Regions from separate parts of the Homo sapiens genome. Here region 2 is linked to region 1. The links are contacts of gene promoters, found by promoter capture Hi-C in human tissues and cell types (Jung and others, 2019). All regions are on one chromosome and are shown on one strand. Each heading gives the region's core, a stretch centred on a gene start or on the middle of the fragment in contact. The rest is flanking DNA. Distances are from core to core; before and after follow the strand shown. Region 1 holds the start of GJB5 (gap junction protein beta 5). Region 2 overlaps LOC105378641 (a long non-coding RNA gene).

Region 1 (5,012 bases), core at 249-2,748:
TGTACCAATCTGACCATGTCTCTTCCTTTTTCCTGCCTCAGCACAATACAAAATGTAAAAATAGAAAAAAGAAAAGAATTCCCTCATGCCTCCCTCTGCACCCAAGATAAATTCAAACTCCTTAGCATGACATTCCAGGTCCTTCATGGTCTGGAAGGTCTTTGCTGACCTTCCAGGCTCCTTGCCATGTGGTGTCCCCACCACTACCCAGCCCACTCTCCAATGCTCTTCCATTATTTTTCACAAAGGTCCTCTGCACGCTATGTGCCCACTGCCTCAAAGGCCCCTCCTCAGCATCTCTTCTTGGTAAACTCCTATACATCCTTCAAGACCCAGCTTAAATGTTACCTTCTCCGGCTCTCCCTCTGGCAGAACTTAAAACTCCCTTCTCTCTCTGTGTCTTTTCTAGGACTTCTCACAATGTTGTAACTGATCTCTTTATATGCCTCCTCTCTCCTGTACTTGGCAACAGCTTTTTGGAAAGAGCATGGAGTATAGAAATGTGTGACTCTCTGCAGGGTGTGTGCATTTCACACATCATTCATTCAATAAATATAAATTGAAGCCTAACTGGACAAGACACCAGGCACCATACTAGGCACAAGGGATAGAGCAGTGAATAAAATAAAGCCACTGCTGCATGTGTGTGCAACACTGTGCCCATAATTGTGGCCTGTGTGTAAGAGTATGCTCATGTGAAGCTACATTGTGTTTGCTTGTGGACATGAGGTGTTTGTGGCTCCTGGATGCTTTGTCTGTTGAATCCTGACCCCAAGTGACCTGCTGATACAGGGCACCTTGGAAGTCAATTAGGCCAAAAGACCGTGTCTGTGCACTAATGAGAAGCTTTCCCCAGGTGCCCCTGCCCACCTTCTCCACCTCTCCTGTGGTTCCTGCCTGGCTTGGGTTTGGCCTTTTTAACCCAAAGACAACATGCATCCAAATGAGATTTTCTCTAGTGCATACGTCTCTCTCTCCCTCCCTTCTCCTCTGCCTTCCCTGTATCTCAGAAAGAAAAGGCCTAGGAATAAGGAAAAGGAGGAGGAAGAAACATTTTTTTGAGGACATACCATGCGGCAGGCCTGTGCTGGGCAGTATACACGCATTATAGGCAATTGTAGACAGGGCTTCCCTTGTGTCAGGCACTGTTCTAAGCACTTCACCCCTAAGGCTGGGTTAATCCACGTATCCACCCTATGAGGTAGGTGTTGTTCTTTTCCCACTTTCACAGAGAAGGCAAGAAATCACACAGTGAGAAAGTGGCAGAGCTGGGATTCAGGCCTCAGCTTCTCCCACACAAGCCCACAGATGGGAGGATGAACAAGGAGTCAGAGTGGACCTGTGGCTCTCCCCTGAGAGGATACCAGGATTCGAGGCTCAGCGCCCTGGGAGGAGTGAACCCCTCAGTTTCCTGAGCCTCATCAGAAGCAGTCTGGGGAGGCTGGGGCCCAGCCAATGGCAGTGCAGGTCCCAGCTCCTCCTCCTCCCAGGCTGGGCCAGCACACCCGGCAGGCTCTGTCCTGGAAACAGGCTTCAACGGGCTTCCCCGAAAACCTTCCCCGCTTCTGGATATGAAATTCAAGCTGCTTGCTGAGTCCTATTGCCGGCTGCTGGGAGCCAGGAGAGCCCTGAGGAGTAGTCACTCAGGTAAGGGCATCTGTGTCCGCATGTGCCCTGCCCCTTGGCATACGTGGCAGGAGGACACTTCTCTGCTGGGGAGTGGTGGGATGTGGCCTGGACACATCTGCCACCCTGGGTCCTGATGGTGGAGGAATAAGGGGCTCTGGGTTCTTTCAGGTCTCCCCAGCCGGGCAAAGGTAGGAGCAGGGGCCAGGCCGGAAGCTCAGCAGGCAGGGTAGCTCTGCCTGGGCCTGCAAAGCCCTGCCCCACTCCTCCCCAAGTAGGGATGGGCTGGGTGAGAGCCCCTGGGGCTAAGGGCGGGGCCTTCCTGGGTGTTCCCTGAGAAGCTGCAGGAGTCCTACCTTAGACAGGACTGAGCATGCAAGATGGTGATTCAAAACAGAGCTCCCCCCAACCCCGGCCCCCACCTCCACCCATCCCCCGTCCAAGTGGCGCAGGTGGTGTGGAGACAGGGTGGTGGGCAAAGGTTCCCCCAGCCACCCTCATCCAGGATCCACACACAAGGGGAAGGACAGAATCCGTCTGCACACAAACAGGCAGGCAGCTCATTGAAACTTGAGGAAAGGGTCTGAGGCCTAAGGCTGGGCAGTTCCCGGAGGGTGGGCTCTAGAGCCAGCCTGCCTGGGTTCAAATCCTAGCTCTGCCACTTATTAGCTGTGTGACGTTGAGCAAGTTAATTAATCCCTCTGTGTTCCTCTTTCCTCATCTGTAAATTGGGAATAAAAAATATGCCCTTTCCTAAGGTTGCTGTGAAGGAATAATGTACTGATTCATACAAAGAACTTAGAGCGGTGCCTGGCACGGCATGAATGCTTCATGGATATTGGCTGTTATCACTACTCTGCTTTGCAGTTGATCATGCAGAGGCTCCAGAGAGCCTGGTGAGCTTCAGCCTGGACCAGCATGGGAAGGCCATCATGAGCCCTTTAGTGGCTAGGCAGACAGGTTCCTTGGGGTCCCAGGGTGCACAGTTGGTTGAAACCACAGTGCATGGGTCTTAATGGACACACCCCCATCTCCAGGAATCAGGCAGAGGACTCGCGGGTGAGGAAGTGGGGACCCCTTACTCTGCCTAGCAGTCACAGTCCTTACGCGGAGGTGAATCTGATTCTGTGAGTTCATCAGGCCAAATTCACCAGCAGAACTGACAGGAGCAGCATTTCCCACTTGATGTCTTGACAAGGCTGTTCCACAAGATGATAAATGTTATGTCAGGAGGAAAAGGGCTTCTGTGGGCAAATGAGTTTGGGCAATGCCACATATTTCATACCTCTTTTGGTGAATTTATTAGTGAGTTTATTAGCACGGTTGAGCAAAAGAACCCTATTTAACTTTACTAAACCCAATGTTTGCCAACTTTTCTTGACACAGAATCCTCTTCTCTCACTTCTCCTATTGCCAACCTATGGGACAGGGTTCCAGGGAACACTGTTTGGGAAACACTGGAATACCAGGTTACTCTAGGAAACCTACTGTATGAAGAGAATTTATTGCTGCCTGCTTTAGCTTTCAGCTGGATTGCATTGAGTGGCACTTGAGCAGGACTCTGCCTGGCTAATTACAGAGTGTTAGACCAGATGGGGGCTTGGGGACAAGGTTCCAGCCTCCTTTCCAGTCCCATCCCTGAGCCAAGAAAAGGACAAAGAGCAGGTTCCCCTGGGGAAGGGGCTGTCTGAGAAGAGGCAGCAGTGCTCAGAAAGGAGAGAACCATCTCAAGGCTCAGCCCCCCTGAGGAGGAGGGCCAGGGTTGAAACAGAGGGAGCAGGCAGAATGTCCCAGCTCCACCAGTCTTCACTCTGCAGAACCTCAAGACCAGAGCCTCAGGCCCGGGGAGGAATGAGTGGCTCCCTGGACCTGCCCTTATCCACTGGTATTGGTAAGAGCTGGGTTCTGGACTTAATTACCTATGCTCAAATCCCAGCCCTGCACCTAATAGTTGTGTAACCTTGTATATAATGCCACTAAACCTCAGCTCCCTCCCTCTACAAAATGGGGACAGTAGTAGAACCCAGCTCCTCTAGTGATGGTAAGGATGAAATGTGATGACATATTTCTACAAAGTGCTCAGAGCAAGTCTGTGATAAATGTAGGAAATGATTGTTCTTGTTTCCCTGCAGTAGCAGCTGACGCGTGGGTCCACCATGAACTGGAGTATCTTTGAGGGACTCCTGAGTGGGGTCAACAAGTACTCCACAGCCTTTGGGCGCATCTGGCTGTCTCTGGTCTTCATCTTCCGCGTGCTGGTGTACCTGGTGACGGCCGAGCGTGTGTGGAGTGATGACCACAAGGACTTCGACTGCAATACTCGCCAGCCCGGCTGCTCCAACGTCTGCTTTGATGAGTTCTTCCCTGTGTCCCATGTGCGCCTCTGGGCCCTGCAGCTTATCCTGGTGACATGCCCCTCACTGCTCGTGGTCATGCACGTGGCCTACCGGGAGGTTCAGGAGAAGAGGCACCGAGAAGCCCATGGGGAGAACAGTGGGCGCCTCTACCTGAACCCCGGCAAGAAGCGGGGTGGGCTCTGGTGGACATATGTCTGCAGCCTAGTGTTCAAGGCGAGCGTGGACATCGCCTTTCTCTATGTGTTCCACTCATTCTACCCCAAATATATCCTCCCTCCTGTGGTCAAGTGCCACGCAGATCCATGTCCCAATATAGTGGACTGCTTCATCTCCAAGCCCTCAGAGAAGAACATTTTCACCCTCTTCATGGTGGCCACAGCTGCCATCTGCATCCTGCTCAACCTCGTGGAGCTCATCTACCTGGTGAGCAAGAGATGCCACGAGTGCCTGGCAGCAAGGAAAGCTCAAGCCATGTGCACAGGTCATCACCCCCACGGTACCACCTCTTCCTGCAAACAAGACGACCTCCTTTCGGGTGACCTCATCTTTCTGGGCTCAGACAGTCATCCTCCTCTCTTACCAGACCGCCCCCGAGACCATGTGAAGAAAACCATCTTGTGAGGGGCTGCCTGGACTGGTCTGGCAGGTTGGGCCTGGATGGGGAGGCTCTAGCATCTCTCATAGGTGCAACCTGAGAGTGGGGGAGCTAAGCCATGAGGTAGGGGCAGGCAAGAGAGAGGATTCAGACGCTCTGGGAGCCAGTTCCTAGTCCTCAACTCCAGCCACCTGCCCCAGCTCGACGGCACTGGGCCAGTTCCCCCTCTGCTCTGCAGCTCGGTTTCCTTTTCTAGAATGGAAATAGTGAGGGCCAATGCCCAGGGTTGGAGGGAGGAGGGCGTTCATAGAAGAACACACATGCGGGCACCTTCATCGTGTGTGGCCCACTGTCAGAACTTAATAAAAGTCAACTCATTTGCTGGTTCCAGGTGCCCTCTGGTTGTGCGGCCTTCGTGACCCTCACACGTTCAT
Region 2 (5,162 bases), core at 2,512-5,011, 140 kb before region 1:
AATATCCCAACCTCACTCTTCTCTCACCCTCTAATCTCTGGCTGACCACCCCCTTTGGCTGAACTCTATTAGAAGCCAGACATAAGAGAACCCACTGAGGTGGACCATCCAGGTCAGCCCACCAAGGCAGAGACCAGAGTGGAGGAAGGACCTGGAGGATCAGAATGGAGATGCCAGATGCACCATCTAACCTAAAGCACATCCCCCCTCAGAACCTTACTCTTTTCTTTAATGTCAGTTAGAACAATTTCTATTTATTTAATAGAAATGTATTTATTTATTTTATTTAAGAGCTATCTCTAGGCCGGGCGTGGTGGCTCACGCCTGTAATCCCAGCACTTTGGAAGGCCAAGGTAGGCGGATCACGAGGTCAGGAAATCGAGACCATCTTGGCTAACATGGTGAAACCCCGTCTCTACTAAAAATACAAAAAATTAGCCAGGCGTGGTGGCGGGCGCCTGTAGTCCCAGCTACTCAGGAGGCTGAGACAGGAGAATGGCATGAACCCAGGAGGCGGAGCTTGCAGTGAGCCGAGATTGCGCCACTGCACTCCAGTCTGGGCGACACAGCAAGACTCTGTCTCAAAAAAAAAAAAAAAAAAAAAAAAAAAAGAGCCATCTCTCACAATGCCATGAGCACTGAAACCATCTTGGCTTTGCTTACCACCAGGTACCCAGTACCTAGCACAGCGCTGGGGACATAGCAGATAATTGATAAATGTTTGAGACAAATAAGTGGATGAATAAGGTTGCCACTACACAAGAAGTGATAGCCAAAGCTCCAAACTGTATTGTTCCAAAGATATACAGCTGTCTCAAGCTTGGCCCAGACCAGTAGTCAAGTATATCAGAATGCAAGAGACCCAATCTATGTGGACATGTGTCCCCTCTATGCAGAGACTGTACCTGGAGTGACATGATCCTGGTTGGAGGTCACTTGTCCACTGTGAGCAGGACCTGAGTCAACAGCTGAGAATTAGGGACAGATCCAACCCTCAGGAGGGGACCTAGCAAGAACCACGCAAGGCAGTAGGGCCTCAGCTGGAGCTCAAGCTCAAGCAGGATCCCGGTTGCCTGGGGAAAGAACTGAAGCCGACTTTGTCATGGAGTCTCACAAACCAACCTCCCTCCATTCTCCACACTGCAGCCAGTGTGATTTTTCTAAATTATAAATCTAATCATGCCATTCCCCCACTGAAACTCCCACTCACTTTCTCATTTATTCCATGGCTGTGATGTGCAAGTCAAAACTCTTTCACATGGTTTGTAAGTCCCTGCATATCCTGGCCCCTGCCTGCCCCTCCCGCCTCATCTCACCTTCACCTCCAACAGGCACCCGTGCATACACTTGCACGGTGCATGGGCACACACACCACCTCACCCAACTTTCCACTATGCCATTCCCTCTCTCACCTCTGTGTCTTTATACACACAGTTTCCTCAACTAAAACACTCTTCACCAGCAATTCTCTTCCACTTGGCTAACATTTTTCTTATTCTTTGGGTCTCAGCTTAAACTTGCTTCCTTTGGATCGCTTCCAGGGATCTTCTAAGGCAGGGTTGCAGAGCTTCTCCTTAGGGTTTGCGGGTTATCTCAGCACCTTGTGCTTCCCTCATCAGAACACTGGCCCCTCTGTGTCATATTTGCCTATCTGAGTATCTTTCTCCCTACTGCACAATGACTTCATGAAGGTGGGGCAGAGTCTGCCTTTTCCTCCGTTGTATACCCAACACATAGCACAGTTCCTGGCACATAATAAGTGTTCAAAATATCGCTGAATGACTGAGTGGATGGATGGATGGTGGGTGGATGGGTGGTCCATGACTGATGTTAAGAGAAAGCTTTGATTCAGAGCAGTTCAATGGAGGCTCATCAATATGTACCAGACCAAAGAGAATCAGAAAGTGCTAGTCATTCCACACCCACCCATGGGGTCAGACATGCTGAAAGGACCTCTGCCCTGATTCGAGCTTCCAAGGGAGGTTTTATTGCCTGTGAGTGAGCAGGGTCAGGGAGGCCCAGGTTAATGTTACGCAGGAAAGACTTCCTGAGAGAAGTGAACACTGGGATTCAACAGAAGTGATGTGCGGGAGAAATAATACTGTCAAGCATGTTATTGAACACTTATTTTATGTCACGGTCTGAGCCAAGAGCTTATATATTTTATTTCATGTAAGTGACAGAGGCAGAATATGAACTCAAAGAGTCTGATTCCAGCGCTACACACTTAATGAATATACTGCAAAGTCTCTCAAAGCTTGGATGGAGATGAAACAGGAAGGTGTCCCAAGCACAGACACCCAACAAAGACAGTGCTGGAAATAAGCAGGTCCTGGACAGGATTTGGCACAGTGTCAGCTCCAGCAGATGTAGGCAAGCAGAGAGCAGAAGACAAAGAGTGAAAGATGAGACTGAACATCAGACTAAAGACTTTCGGGTTGAACCCACTGGCAATAGGATGTGTGTTGGAATCGTGATTACCTGGTGCCTGAGAGAGAGCTTCCCATGGCTGATGTAAAGGATGGGTGAGAAAGGAAGAAAAGACAGAAGATCAGCTGTGAGGCTCCAGGGTGACTCAGGTGACAGGTGACAAGTAACAACTTGGAAGGAGGCCCGGGAATAAAGGAGCCATGGCAGAGGAACACAGCGTAAGATCTGAGGAAGTCAGAGGCAGTGGGGAGCCCCCATTCAGCCCTATCATTCTTTTTTTATTCTCAGGGCAAACTAAAGTATTAACTCAGTTCTGGTTCCTACCCCAGACCCAAAAGCTGCTTCTGTTTCCAATTGTCAACACAAGCAGAAAGAAAGTCACCCACCTTGGTTAATTGCCGTTCTGCTGCATGGAGGGGCCCAGGGATCCCAAAGTCATTAAGCCAGGGATGGTTTTGGTGTCTCTAACCTCCAGTCTCTCCATGATACTGAGGAATATGCTTGATTTAATTGGCCTGCTTTAAAAAAAAAAAAAATCTTGTGATGACTTTCATGGAAATAGACTACTAGCTGAGAGACCTTGGTGATGAATAAAAGTTTAGTGCCTGGAGAGCTTCACCAGTCCACCACTCTGAACCTGACTTCCTCCGGCTGGCTAACTCTTCTCCCAAGTGTGTCTGTCTCCTTGACCAAGCAGAGACAGCCCACCTAGGGGCTGTCACTTGGAGTTAGAGGTGAAGAGCAGAGCTGGATGGAGGCACATGGGAATCTTGCCCTCTCTATCTCCCATCTGGCACCCAGCGTGTGCATTCTAAAACGCACACTCATTGATTCATTATACACCTTAAAACCTGCAGGAGCTTCTCAAGATCCTAGAGATGAATTCCAAATCTTTAACGTGGATTTAAGGCCCTTTGGCATCAAGCCTCAGGCCAACTCTCTAGCCTCATATAAGCTTATACTTTGTGTTTCCTGGCTGTGAATGGCTTTCAAGTGCCTCGGGGGCACCCTCTTGCCCCTCATTGCAACCGGGGGAGGAGGCCACAAATGTACCAGGCATCCCATCAATGCAGGCTGATGGAGCAGTAGCAAATTGCAATGACCTTATATTTAACTTTGGGAACCTGTATTGATTTCCTGGGGCTGCCATAACACATAAGCCACTTGGTGGCTTAAAACAACAGAAATTTATTTGTGCCCAGTTCCGGAGGCCAGAAGTCTGAGATTGAGCTGTCAGCAAGGCTATGCTCCCTTCAAATACCCTAGCGGAGAGTACTTCCTTGCCCTTTCCAGCTTCCAGTGACTGTCAGCATTCTTTGTGTTGTGGCTGCATCACTCCAATCTCTGCCTCCATCTTCATATGGCCTTTTCCTCTTCTCTCCCAGAATTCTCCTCTTTTGTCTCTTATGGAGTCACTTATCATTGGATTTAAGGCCCACCCAGATAATCTAAGATGATCTCATCTTGAGATCCTTAACTTAGTTACATCTGCAAAGACACTTTTTCCAAATAAAGTCACATTCACACGTTCTGGGTTAGGATGTGAAGGCATCTTTTCGGGACCTGACCAAAGAAGGGTGAGTTGGAGGTAACTCTTGGACCGAACAACTCTTTGGAAATAAAGTAACAGATGAGGAATGGCAGTGTGGCCCAGGGAGGTGTCAGGAAGGGCAAAGGTACCCGTCAATTTGCTCTTTAAGCTGTATCCCAGTTTTGCAGTGAAGCTGTGACCCCCAAGGAAACTCAGAAGGGACCAAAAGTAGACCAGAGCCTGAGGTATACTTCTGTCACCGCTTCCTCTGGAATTGGGATCCTGCCCATCAACAGCCCTTGACCTCAATGCACTGAGACCCACATCCTTAAGTCTATTTTATGAGCTTAAGGAAAGAAGCAGATACGGGAGAAAGACCATAAACTTTGGAGTCAGGAGACTGGGTTTGAATCCTGGCTCTGCAACTTTCTAGTTGCTTCGTCTTCCTTCACTGTAAAGGGGTAATGCTATTTCTCTCTCAGGGCTGTTTGGGTTAATGAAATATGAGCACTGTGCCTGGCCCATAACAGGGGTTCTAGACATGTTCTGCTTCCTGGCCACCTTCAAATGTCACCTATTCCTTCTGTGGATATCCAGAAAGGATGTCCCCACACCTCCCCAATTCTGCAGGCATCCAGCCCGAAAGGGAGGCTGAAAAAGACAGACAATCATGGGAAGAGGGGAGCTCTAATGGACTCTCTACTTACGCTGCACAAACAAGCTCGGACAGAAACTCCTCCTCCTTTGTTCTTTAGGACCCAGCAATGCTTCAGCCCCTGCCACCCTGCATTAAGCAATCTTTCAACTCTCTGTCCTTCTTTATCTAATAAGTGGGGCCACTGGGTGAAAGTTGGCACTCCCGTGGTACCTTAGCATGCCTTCCACTTTTCTCCTGGTTGTTATGTAGGATATGATACCATTCGCTTAATCTATTGTTGCTGGACCAAGACAGGGCTATTTAAGTCACACTCTTGTTGTTGAAAAGTCTAGCAAAGCTCATATCCTTTGAGTATAACAGGAGCCAAATATTCCAAGATTCTATAAGATATTTGTAAGCAAAAAGACAGAGGGGACCAGTGAGAAAAAGTATTGCCAAATTGGAGATGAAAGTCCTCTGATATCCCACCACCACAACCCCTTTCCTGCCCCCATTTGTCACTCTGTACTGGGAAATGTCACAGTATGAGGAGGTGGCTGATGT

Evidence for each region. The method cuts DNA at HindIII sites, captures the fragments that hold promoters and counts their contacts. A contact is called where the count stands out against the background at its distance.
Region 2: a contact is called between a fragment that was not itself captured here and the fragment with the promoter of GJB5 in region 1, in 1 of the 25 tissues and cell types used here (heart left ventricle).

What each region holds. Positions count from the first base shown.
Region 1 is chr1:34,753,549-34,758,560 of GRCh38, forward strand. GJB5 (gap junction protein beta 5) reads left to right here and starts at 1,499. Exons shown (of 2, transcript NM_005268.4): 1 at 1,499-1,647; 2 at 3,759-4,964. The coding sequence starts at 3,783. The coding sequence ends at 4,604. The HindIII fragment of the contact is 2,696 bases long and covers 368-3,063 here.
Region 2 is chr1:34,612,748-34,617,909 of GRCh38, forward strand. LOC105378641 (a long non-coding RNA gene) reads right to left here. Exons shown (of 9, transcript XR_001737964.2): 2 at 2,817-2,948. Among named protein-coding and RNA genes, the nearest start is that of MIR552, 54 kb to the right of the region's middle. The HindIII fragment of the contact is 3,425 bases long and covers 2,050-5,162 here.